4 separate regions of the Homo sapiens genome follow, and all the other regions are linked to region 4. The links are contacts of gene promoters, found by promoter capture Hi-C in blood cells and fetal thymus (Javierre and others, 2016). All regions are on one chromosome and are shown on one strand. The core of a region is centred on a gene start or on the middle of the fragment in contact, and the rest is flanking DNA. Distances in the headings are between cores, read along the strand shown.

Evidence for each region. The method cuts DNA at HindIII sites, captures the fragments that hold promoters and counts their contacts. A CHiCAGO score of 5 or more calls a contact.
Region 1: the fragment with the promoter of DIPK2B here is called in contact with the fragment with the promoter of FUNDC1 in region 4 in 3 of 17 cell types (neutrophils, endothelial precursors and monocytes); the score reaches 6.0 in neutrophils.
Region 2: a contact is called between a fragment that was not itself captured here and the fragment with the promoter of FUNDC1 in region 4, in 1 of 17 cell types (total B cells). The highest score is 5.1, in total B cells.
Region 3: a contact is called between the fragment with the promoter of NDP here and the fragment with the promoter of FUNDC1 in region 4, in 11 of 17 cell types (total CD4 T cells, non-activated CD4 T cells, naive CD8 T cells and 8 more). The highest score is 12.9, in total CD4 T cells.

The regions. Positions count from the first base shown.
Region 1 is chrX:45,199,525-45,202,224 of GRCh38, forward strand. DIPK2B (divergent protein kinase domain 2B) reads right to left here and starts at 1,352. Exons shown (of 5, transcript NM_176819.4): 1 at 1,070-1,352. The coding sequence starts at 1,302. The HindIII fragment of the contact is 1,085 bases long and covers 840-1,924 here.
Region 2 is chrX:45,183,344-45,186,043 of GRCh38, forward strand. The region is part of intron 2 of DIPK2B (divergent protein kinase domain 2B); the gene reads right to left. Among named protein-coding and RNA genes, the nearest start is that of DIPK2B, 16 kb to the right of the region's middle. The HindIII fragment of the contact is 1,302 bases long and covers 761-2,062 here.
Region 3 is chrX:43,972,019-43,974,718 of GRCh38, forward strand. NDP (norrin cystine knot growth factor NDP) reads right to left here and starts at 1,372. Exons shown (of 3, transcript NM_000266.4): 1 at 1,286-1,372. The HindIII fragment of the contact is 1,267 bases long and covers 1,070-2,336 here.
Region 4 is chrX:44,541,430-44,544,129 of GRCh38, forward strand. FUNDC1 (FUN14 domain containing 1) reads right to left here and starts at 1,430. Exons shown (of 5, transcript NM_173794.4): 1 at 1,376-1,430; 2 at 516-672. The coding sequence starts at 1,403. RefSeq lists enhancers at 1,125-1,514, 1,695-1,744, 1,755-1,814. The HindIII fragment of the contact is 14,705 bases long and covers 1-2,700 here.

The DNA.
Region 1 (2,700 bases), core at 102-2,601, 660 kb after region 4:
TAAGCACCTCTCACTTCTTCCCACACCTTTGCTTAAGATGTTACTTCCACCTTAAGCCCTTCACTTCCCGTTACTTTTCAGCTCATCCTTTAAAAGGCTTTGCTCAGAATACCTTCTCCTGGGGAAGCCCTTCCCCAGTTCCCATTTGGAATTAATGGAGCTCCTGGAGGTCCTTTACACTGCCCTGCATCAGACAAAGCCTTATTATTATTATTTATAACATGACCCCCTTGTCCTGACCTCCAGGAAGGCAATGACCAGAGTTATAGTTGCTGTCACCCCAGTACCTGCTAGAGTTTGGCTGTGGTAAAGGCTCATGGACTGTGTGTTGATAGGCTTAAATTCCAAGTGTGATGCCATTCTTTGCTGAGAGCCATGTGCATTGCAATTTACTAAGCTCCAGTTTTCCTCTGATCAAGGCAATCTCTCACAACAGAAAGCTGGCTCAGAAACTTTGGAGCAAACCGTCCTGGTTTGAATTCCACAGCTGCTACTTATTCGGTGGTGACCTTGTGCAAGTTACTTAATCTTTTTTAAAAAATAAATTTTATTGTGTATATTTAAAGTATACAACACGATGTTGTAAGATACATATATATAGTGAAATGGGTCCCATCATCTCACAGAGTTACCCATTTCCCCCCACTGAAGTCACTTTATCTGGCTATGTCTCAGCTTACCACCTCAATAATGGGGGAACACCATTAACTCTCACAATGATTTAAAATAGGTGTCACATTGTAGGCTTTCTATAAATTTTATTTCCCGCCCACTGTGAGAAATGAACTTGATAAACTCAACAGTCCCAGGCTACTCCATTCATAGGAAAGAAAACTTCAAGCTTTCAGTTCAAAAGGAAATGTTGGATTTAGCATTTAGGGCTGGAATTTGGCTTCACATCTTGCCCTCTTACCCACCCCAACTTCAGACCATTACCACTCTGATTAAATGGATTTGTTTCAGCTCCCACCCATATTACATCCTGATTCCTTTTCAACAAATTCCTGGACATCTTCACAAGAAGGGAACAGAATTTTGTGATTCAGAGTTATTTGATTGATATTCTGACCTTATTTCTTCTTTAAAGAACTTCTTGCAAATAGATGTCCCGATGCAGGCATTGCATTTATCAAGACCGAGGAAAGTCCTTCCAAAATTGTAGCTGGTTCTGACTTGGGGCACCAGAGAAGAAAGGGAAGAAGCTGGCAAGGAGAAAGAACAGCTCAGGGCTGAGACCCACAGCAGCAGGGCCAGCCAGCCAGGGCGGAGGGCGGCAGCCTCAGGCCCCAGCTGGGGCTCCATCTTGGGCTCTGGGCTCCAGCTGCAGCCTCTGGCTGTCCACTCGAGGCTGTACAGAGGCAGGGCTTGGCCAAAGAGGAAGCTGTCAGAGGGGGCTGGCTTCTGGGTGCTGACCCCATCCCAGCCTCCCAGGTTTCTCTTTGAGGATGCTGAGGAGCTTGGGGCTAATGAGGCTGGGGAGGAGGTGAGGAAGTCAGTGGAGGATGCTGATAACGCTGTTTCCAGAGTTACTCTTCCTTTGCCGGGGGTGGCTGCTTCAGGCTGGGGAGGGGCTCGCTGGCAGATTTCGGGAAGGACAATTGTCAGGGCTTCCCTGTGTGGTCCTTTTGACAAACACAGGATATCCCGGCAGGGCAGGAAAGGTCCATGCAGGATGTGTGTCCAACCTGCGTTCCACCTGGGAGTTTCAAAGGATCCTGAAAGCCTCCACCCTCCACTGTTTTAATTCCAGGTTTATCTGTCCCTATGGATTACACGTGCACCCCAATTTTTGACCCCTCTGTGCTAGGTCATTTGTCCTGCCCCTTAATCAGCCCTCCTTCCCCCACTTTTACCATATTTGCCTGTGAAATAACTAGAGGTTAGCTTGCTTGCCATTAACTGGCACATTTAGCACTGATTTGAAAGCTTTTTGCTGCTTAGGGAAGAGAAAACCTCAGGTTAGTCCATCTTCTCTTGCTGGTCTGAGAACAAGAGACCAGAAAGAACCCGGTGGCCTCTGTGGCATGATGAGGGGAGCACCAGAAAGAGCCCTCTGACAGCACACAGCTGTGTCTATCCCTCTCCCACAGACCTGAAAGCTTCTCTTCCTTTACCAACTTGCTTCACTTCTCGGGGTGGCTTGGCCGGATTTGGTAGGATTTAACTGCCCCAGGATTGCCTTCCTCAGGATACCAAGATAAGGTCCGCAGCATGGAGTAGATGGAAGTGCTAATTTGGGAGTAGAGAGAACCTCTGAGAACCAAATCAGGGAAGTCAGGCTGCCTCACATTCTGTGAGAGGGTGGAGGTGGGGAGCGGGGCACGGTTTGAAAATATGAGAAAGTGCATAGGAAGATGGGGCTGGGGGTGAGGAAAAGGGAGGTAAGAGGGAGTGGGGATTGCCTCTGGACAATTGACAAGTTTTGCTAAAGATTGGTGGGAAGAGCAGGTAAAGGCAATTTTCTGATGATGAAGCACGTGCTTATTAGCATTTGTATAGCTTCCTCAGTAAAATGTCTGGTCATGTTTGCTTTTTATTGGTGAGTTTTGACGCTTGTTTATATATTCTAGATCCGAGTCCTCTGTTGGATATGTGGCTTGCAAATATTTTCTCCCCAGGGCTAACTTGTCTTTTATTCTTTTAACAGAGTCTTCTGCAGAGTGAAAGTTTTGATTTTGAAGTCCAATTTGTTAATTTTTT
Region 2 (2,700 bases), core at 162-2,661, 640 kb after region 4:
AGTGAGTTCCCCAGCCTGAGAGATTCACAGAGACCTGGCAAATGATATTGCTGAACCATGGGCAGTGAATGCAGAGAACAGAAAAGGCATGAAAATCCATTTCTGATATTTAAAAAGAGCAAGAGGGTAGATTTCACAAATTAGTGATTAGTGGGCTGATCCTGGATCACAGGAAATATTCTAAAACAGGTTATTCATAGGATAATTTGTGAGCCTCCAGATGGGGAAATGATGATCTTAAGGAGTCACTGAGGATTCTTTTAATCAAATCATTCCAGACTAACAACTTTTTTTTCTTTGACCTGGTAGTTTGATTTTTAATCAGAGAAATTCAATAGACAGAATATATGAACTTTAGTGAAGCATTCAACAGTGATTCTCATGAGACCCCTATAAAACAAAAGGGGAAACAAGATTTGGGCTGCATAGAAAAATTAAGATGATTAGTAATTGGTTAACTGAGTTTACCTAACAACTAACGGATTAACCCCTATAGAGAAAGAAAGCTTTTTATTTGGCCCTGTTCTGGTTAACATTTTTATAGAGGACTAAGACATAGATAAAAATTGTGTTCATCAAAACTGAGAATAATATGTACTTGGGGTGATACGGGGTATGATAAGTATCAGAAACAAGTTGACAGGCTAGAATAATGGATTTAATATAAGAAGATCATATATAACAGGATAAACAAAAGGTTCTGTCCTTGTGAACTAAAATCTAGCTACAGAAGGGGTTTCAGTTGACATAACATTTAAGAAGCTTCAATATGAGAGGAATGCCGAGATGAAAAAGAGAACTGGGGATGTTTACAATGGGGAAGCCAGGATTTAGGAGCTGCGTGTATGGGAGGGCATATGTCATGTATAATCTGTATGATTCCAGGGCGTAGAAATACTTTACATAAGTGAGAGCTACAAGAAGACAGATTTGGGATGAACTTTCCAAGTATCTGTTCTGTCCAAAGAAGGCATAAGCTGAAGGTAGTGAGTTTCCTGTCACTGTATGATACGGTAGATGACCCTTTGCCTTACAGAAAGGATGCAAATATGTTAGAGTTCAAATTGCTGAGCTTTCAAATTTATTTCAACCCCAAGAATCTATGACATATGTGTAATTCAGTAAGTAGAAATAGATTTTGATCTTTAACAAATTGATATATTGCTCTGTGGTTTGCTCTCATATATAAACCAGGAATAAATATATTTATTCCCTGCTTAACCCACACAAAAGGTTTATAAATTATGCCTTCCACAGACCTCTTGATAATCCTAAGAGAGAAGCGCTAACACAATTGTAAAAATTATTACTGCCATAAGTGGCCTTGAGTTAGGAACAAATTAATATGCGTTTTTAATATCTTTTTGTATTATTTCTCCACATTAATGACCGAACTTGTGTCAACAGCAGCCTAACAGAACCCTGGATTGATTTTCAATTTTCCTCTGAGCAGTGATTTGGCAAAGGCTAAATCATAGTTTGGGGAAATATAGAGTTTTCATCATTGTTATTATCCTGATATTATTACAATTTCAATTATTTGCTCTGTGGCTCAAAAGATAATGTTTTTACATTTCTGCTTTGGTATTTTTTTTTCCTATTATAGTTAATGTCTGATGTGATTCTCTTTTGATTAGATAAAATGATCTTTAATATTTCTACTTTAAAAAATGTATTGAGGGGTTTTGTGGCTTAATACACAGAACACAATCACGGTAGCACAATCAATTGATATAGTGGTTAAGTTCTGCTTATTAGGCCACAAATATTGTGTTAGAACACAATCACTATATTAACTGATGTCTTCCAAGTGACTTTCTTTATAGATAAATACTATATATTATATAGTTTAACCTTTGATTCCTTCATAGCATGTGGACATGCATAGAGGGACAGCCAATCCAGAGGCCTCTGGGCCAAGTCACACTTAACGGCAAAAGCATTTTTTTCTGAGTACATCAGGATAGAGGTAATGAGATATCAAAGGAAGAATTGTATAGAACAAAGGATGCCTTGATTTTTTAAAAAAGGGGCTTGATTGGTAACATCTAAGTTTAGGGAAAGCTTAAAGCCCTGTAAAAGCAAAGCTTGCTTTGTATTGTTTGTTCTGATGATTATTCAGGCTTCGGTTACGTTTTGGCTGGGGGCGGCCTGTATTCTGTATTTGAGCATCATCTGGAAGGAGCCACTGGTGACTTGTCTCATGTCTATCTTTCCCCTAGTCTTCTCTTGCCTCCTTTTTCTTTCTCAACTTGTCTGTGTCAGGACTGGGGAAGCCTTTCACTGTCTCATTTTCTTTCTTTTCTTTTCTTTTTTTTTTTTTTTTTGAGATGGAGTCTCGCTCTGTTGCCCAGGCTGGAGTGCAGTGGCGCAGTCTCGGCTCACTGCAACCTCCGCCTCCTGGGTTCACACCATTCTCCTGCCTCAGCCTCCCGAGTAGCTGAGACTACAGGTGCCTGCCACCACGCCTGGCTAATTTTTTGTATTTTTAGTAGAGACAGAGTTTCACCATGTTAGCCAGGATGGTCTCGATCTCCTGACCTCGTGATCCGCCCGCCTCGGCCTCCCAAAGTGCTGGGATTACAGGCGTGAGCCACCGCGCCCGGCCGACTGTCTCATTTTCATTCGTGAGCTCCATCAAGAATAATTTAGGGGTAATTTGAGTGGGCACAGTGGGTGATTATTAGTCCCTTTTCTATG
Region 3 (2,700 bases), core at 122-2,621, 570 kb before region 4:
CCACAGCAACTCCCCATTTCAGTCATCTCTCTGTTTTCAAATGCACCTGGTATTTAATCTTATGTGTTGGGGTAATTTGCCAATGCCAGCTCCTTGTAATTAAAATACACTAATATTAGAAATGAAAAGAGACATGTTTCACAGCAGCCATATCTGTTATTAATGAGTTACAAAGAACTGTACAAGGGACTCCCATCTTGCCAAATAGCTTCCTTTCCCGCACCTGAATCTCAGTAAAGATGGGAGTCTGCCTCTCATGGAGGCTTATCTGGGTTTGTCTATTACAATGAGCCTCAGTTACTGGGCGTTCTGAGTCATTAACATTCTGTACACAATCAAACTTCCCGTCCCCCAAGAAAGAGTTATGCCCAGGCCTCCTACAGCTCAATTGTTCATTTAAAGAGAGAACTTGTATTCCAAAGTTTGAAAGAAACCTCGGAATATCCCGCAGGTAGGAGTCATTCCTACAGGTCCTGGTCTCTGTGCTGGTGGGAGCATCCTTTCCCGGTCACTCCTTGAACATCATGCTGCAGGGACGAGCTGATGACTAAAAATAACCCCCTGCAATAAGTCCAAGGCAAACAGCATGCATTTCCTCGGACTTTTTGCCCAATCAAAATCATACAGTAAATCCATCCTCATCTCCTCCCGGTGCTCCCCAATGCATCTATGGAAGCGAAGACCTGCACGCTGAAAGAAGAGTGCAAGGGAGCAGGATTCCTGCAAAGCGTGACACAGAAAGCTAGAAATAAATGTTGCCTATTGTTTGAAGTCATTCTGAGCACTCCGGCAGAGCCCTGGCAGGAGATCAGCAGCATACATAAGTAGTAATAAAAGTAAACAGTGCGCTTTTAAACTCGCAGTCTTGCCTGCGTTAATAGTGCCCCCATTGTAAGTGGGATGAGGGTGCTGGGGAAGATACTGGGCTCCATGAATCCATGTTGGCAAGTTGCTGCTTCGCAGCCCCCTTTCACGGGGTCAACTATAAGAACCATCACAAAGTTACATCTAACTACGCAGAGAGTTTGAAAAGAAAAATCTCTTTAAGTCAAACCAAAAGATATTTTCAAGCTTTTCTAGGAGGCTCCCTGCTCTGTCACAGACTTCAAAGACCCGTTCATTTAAGAAACACAATGCTAGCATGCTACAGATTAATGCAAATTAAAGTAATGCAAATTTAAGTGGTATTTAAAGGTTGTCTCTTTGTCTGAGAGGAGGATGAAATGCTCGGTTTGGAAAGAAGCGATTTCCTAGGCAAGCCGGCAGCGCTTGTTTTCCTGCTTACCTTAGGGGAACGCAGGGCTCCTTTCTTCTCAGACTTTTCTGAGAGCTAGAAAGAGGTCCTGTTACTTCCAAATGCTTTTGTTCTTCTGTCCCTCTGTCACATGGCTTGCCTTTTATATTTGCAACACACAAAAGTTAGGACTGTTGTTTAAGCGACACAGGGAGAGAGAGAGAGGGAGAGAGAGAGGGAGAGAGAGAGAGGGAGAGAGAGAGAGAGAATGTCAAATGGAAAAGTGCCATTGCAGTCATATATCAATCAGGCGTGCGGCCGCAGCAGCGCACTAGCAAATGGGAATGCCACGGAAATGTGAGGCGCTCGTTATCGGGGACTCAGCCTCTGCCCACCGCTCGGCTCCCTTCCACGGAGCATCTTACGATGGGAACAGCGTAGCAGAACAAGGGCGAGGAAGTTTCTTTCTTTCTTTCTTTTTTAATGGTATTATGGAACTAATAAGAGGCCAAATGAATATTCTGAATTTAATTCTTTTTCAAGCATGTGGCTGCCATAAAGATGTGCCGTCCGCAATAGAGACGTATAGTTTTGGAAATACAAAGGCAGTGTGGCATTCTGTTGAACGATTCGGCAGCTGACTGTGATGAAGTTGAAATTTTAAGTAAGAGAGGGGAAAGATGGGAACCAGAAATTTTTTTCTCAGGCGATGCTGTTAAAGCAAGTGCAAAACGCTGCCCTATTTTATCACGATGTGTGTGGGTGGTGAGAGTTCTTTTTTTCCGGGTTGTTCATCCATTAAATGATTTTTAGCAGCATATACATGATTAAATTCACAATGGCACTTTAATAAGCCCCTTCATCTGCATCATTTAGAATAAAACTTTAGGTCTGATTTAGAAACAATGAGAACGTGTATTCCTTGACTCCTTGAGCTATATGAAGGAGAAACTAATAGATAAAGCTAACCCATTACACAACAACTAGTAGAAAAGTGACAAAGGTAACTATGTGTGTGGGTTAAATACCTGCAGCTGAATCATGCTGTGTTATGAGCTGTGGGACTACAAAGGCAAATATTTCATAATTCTTGCCCTTTGAAAGCTTAAAATTAACACAGAAAACCGTCAGGGATTTTGGAGGAAAATACAAAGAACATTTAATAATTATTTTATGTCAGGTAAATCAGACCCAGAATAATTTGTTTTATTAATACTACTGATGAAGAATTAAACTGAGAATTTAAAATATATATATTTCGTGGAAAAAATAATACATTATAAAACTCAAAAAGAAATTTTTCTTGGGAGCTTCATGTAATTGTTGATGCTGAAACTGTCTTGTTCAACTCTGTATCAAACTATTTGTTATTCATTAATAAATTTACATTCACCTTATTACTTTTCCATGGGACCTTTACTCCAGTCACTGATATTTGCAAGAGGTGTCTTAAAACTTTCAGTTTT
Region 4 (2,700 bases), core at 180-2,679:
TCAAAGAGTTATCATAATCTGAACGAGCCCACAAAAAACAGAATCATCTGTATCATCACCAATAATTCATACTGAGCATTTTACACTGCTCTGTACAGGGCTGACAATACTAGAGGCCAGTTCTACCGTGGGAGTTTCTTAGGTTTTTTCAGCAGTTAGCACTGAATGAAATGTAAAAATTTACATATAATTAACTCATATATTTCTTCCTATCTACTATCACTGAATCAGATCCACGACATTTGCTGAACATGAGAATGGGGAAATTATATAAAGAATCAAAAGAAGGATGAGGAGGGAGAAGAGGAACAGTGGTGGGCATGGGGGAGGGGATCGCCAAAACTCAACAGGGAGCCTGGGAATGTAGATTACATCAATTTTAACTCAGAGAAAAGCCTCTTCTGGAATTAACAGTGTAGACCTACTGCCTGTGCACGGTGATTCTTGCCCATGTATGAAAGGACAGCAGTGTCAGGCCCCCAAATGAAATTTAATGAAAAAGACGTTGTTCTCACCAGCCAGTAACGCCACCCATTACAATCTGGGTAGCTACTGAGTATTTTTCTACCATAGGTCCCGAACTGTGGCCAAACACTCGATTCCACCACTGGTGTCTTCTTGCATACTCAGTTAAATCCAACACTTCATAAGAGTCGTCATCACTTTCATAGTCTTCAAAATAGCAAAATGCAAAAAATAAATGTAGAGTCAATCAAAAGTCAGAAATGTTCTATACATCTTTTTAAAAATCTGTTACAACTCATTAGTTCTGGCCTACAGCTAAAAATGCCCACATAGAAACTACTGACTTTATTTAACTCAATTCTTGAGACCAGGGCCTCAAGAGTAAAGGACCCTGCAACAATGACCCCCATCTGCTTTCCCAAAGGCCCGGGGACCAGCCTGGGGTCACGAAGCCAGGGCCAACTCAGAATGACACAGTAGTGAGGGGTCACCCCCACCTCCAAACCTTAGTAGGGTCAAGGTCAGAGCAGGGTCCATTTTCATCAGTGGGAGGAATGGGGGTGGGGAGGGGTCCTCCTGAGAGAACTAGTCTGGAGCTCAGCGAAATCACTTGAGTCCAGACGTTTAAAAAAAGAAAATAATACATTTGAAGATGGGAGATGAAGGGCCGGAGGTGAAGGTAAGGCAGGAGGCAGGTAGGGCTGTGCTGGGGGTGGGGGTGGCTCTCCGCTTGAGTTCCGCAGAGAGGGGAGGAAAAAGTCTAGCTCGGAGGGGGTGCTCGAAGGGGCTGCCTTAAAAAAAAAATGGAGCTCGAAGAATCCTAGGGCAGGGGAAGGAAGAGGTGCCATAGGAGCAAGGTCGAGAGCTGTGAGCCGCGTCCCAGATACCACTTCGGGCCCTGGCCGCTCACCTTGGGGAGGGGGGTTCCGGGTCGCCATGATACCGCCAGCGGCCAATTCTGGAGTGGTCCCCACCCGCCCTCCTCTCCCTGGCACTTTAAGGGCCGCTCTAGGCCAGGATGGAAGTCTATGGTCTCTTTTTTCCTCCTTCTCCTACTCCAGGCGCGTAGTCCTGTCTCCGCCCCCTTCTCTCAGCGCAGGACCTTCTGCCTTCTGCGCAGGCGCGAAACTCCGGAATGTGGGGAGGGCCGGGCGGATCATAGCCCCGCGAGAGCGTAGGGGACTTGTAGTCCGTTGCCTTCCGCAACTAGGAAGGGGGAGGGACCGCCCCTCCTAGAATTTCCGTAACTTGAATTTGATTATTTTGTTTTAAAAGAGCCTTAAGGGCTGAAGGAATGGGGTGAAGGGCGCCACATGGTGGTACAAAGGGAGAACCAGCTGGGTATTGACAAAGACTCTCTCCTTGACCAAACTTTAGTCAGGAGGCTCCTCTGAGCTGTTTTTGACTGGGTCTCCTCCTTGGGTCGTCTTTGACCTGCCTAGTCCATTTGTGGTAAGAATGCAGTTAAGTCAGTTTAGTAAGAACTCCCCCACCCTTAATATCGAATCACCCTCAATATCCGATCGAATTCCTCAACCCCACTCTTGATATCTGATCACTCTGCCACCAGCAAAAATCCTGTTAAATTGGCTTTAGCAAGAATACCCCTACCCTTCATGTCTACTCTTGGTAATCTTCCACCCATTGATCCATTCACTCTGATCATTTACTATAAATTCCCTGCTGTATTCAGAGTTGAGACCCATCACTCACCCCTATTGCCATAGTCTTTGTTTTATGAGAAAAGGTATTGCTCTGTCACCAGGCTGGAGTGCAGTGGCGCTATCATGGCTCACTGCAGCCTCAAACTCCTGGGCCCAAGAGATCGGCCCACCTCAGCCTCCAGAGTACCCAGGACTCCAGGCGTGCATCACCACTCCCGGCTAATTTATTTTTATTTTTTGTGGAGAGTAGGTCTCCCTGTGTTGCCCAGGCTGCTCTTAAACTTCTGGGCTCAAGCAGTCTTCCTGCCTCTGCCTCCCAAAGTGCTGGGATTACAGATGTGAGCCACCATGCCAGGCTGTATTGCAATAGTTGTGATACCTATTGCAGTAGTCATGAACAAAGTCTTCCTTACCATTTTAAGAAGTGTCCCATAATTTTTTTGTCAGGCCCATCACTTGCATACTGTCAGAATAATTTTTTAACAGTATTTTGAACATTACCAGAATTCAAATGCTTGAGGAAAAAGGCTTGTAAAAGATAAGAGAAACCCTGTTTCAAGCCATACTTTTC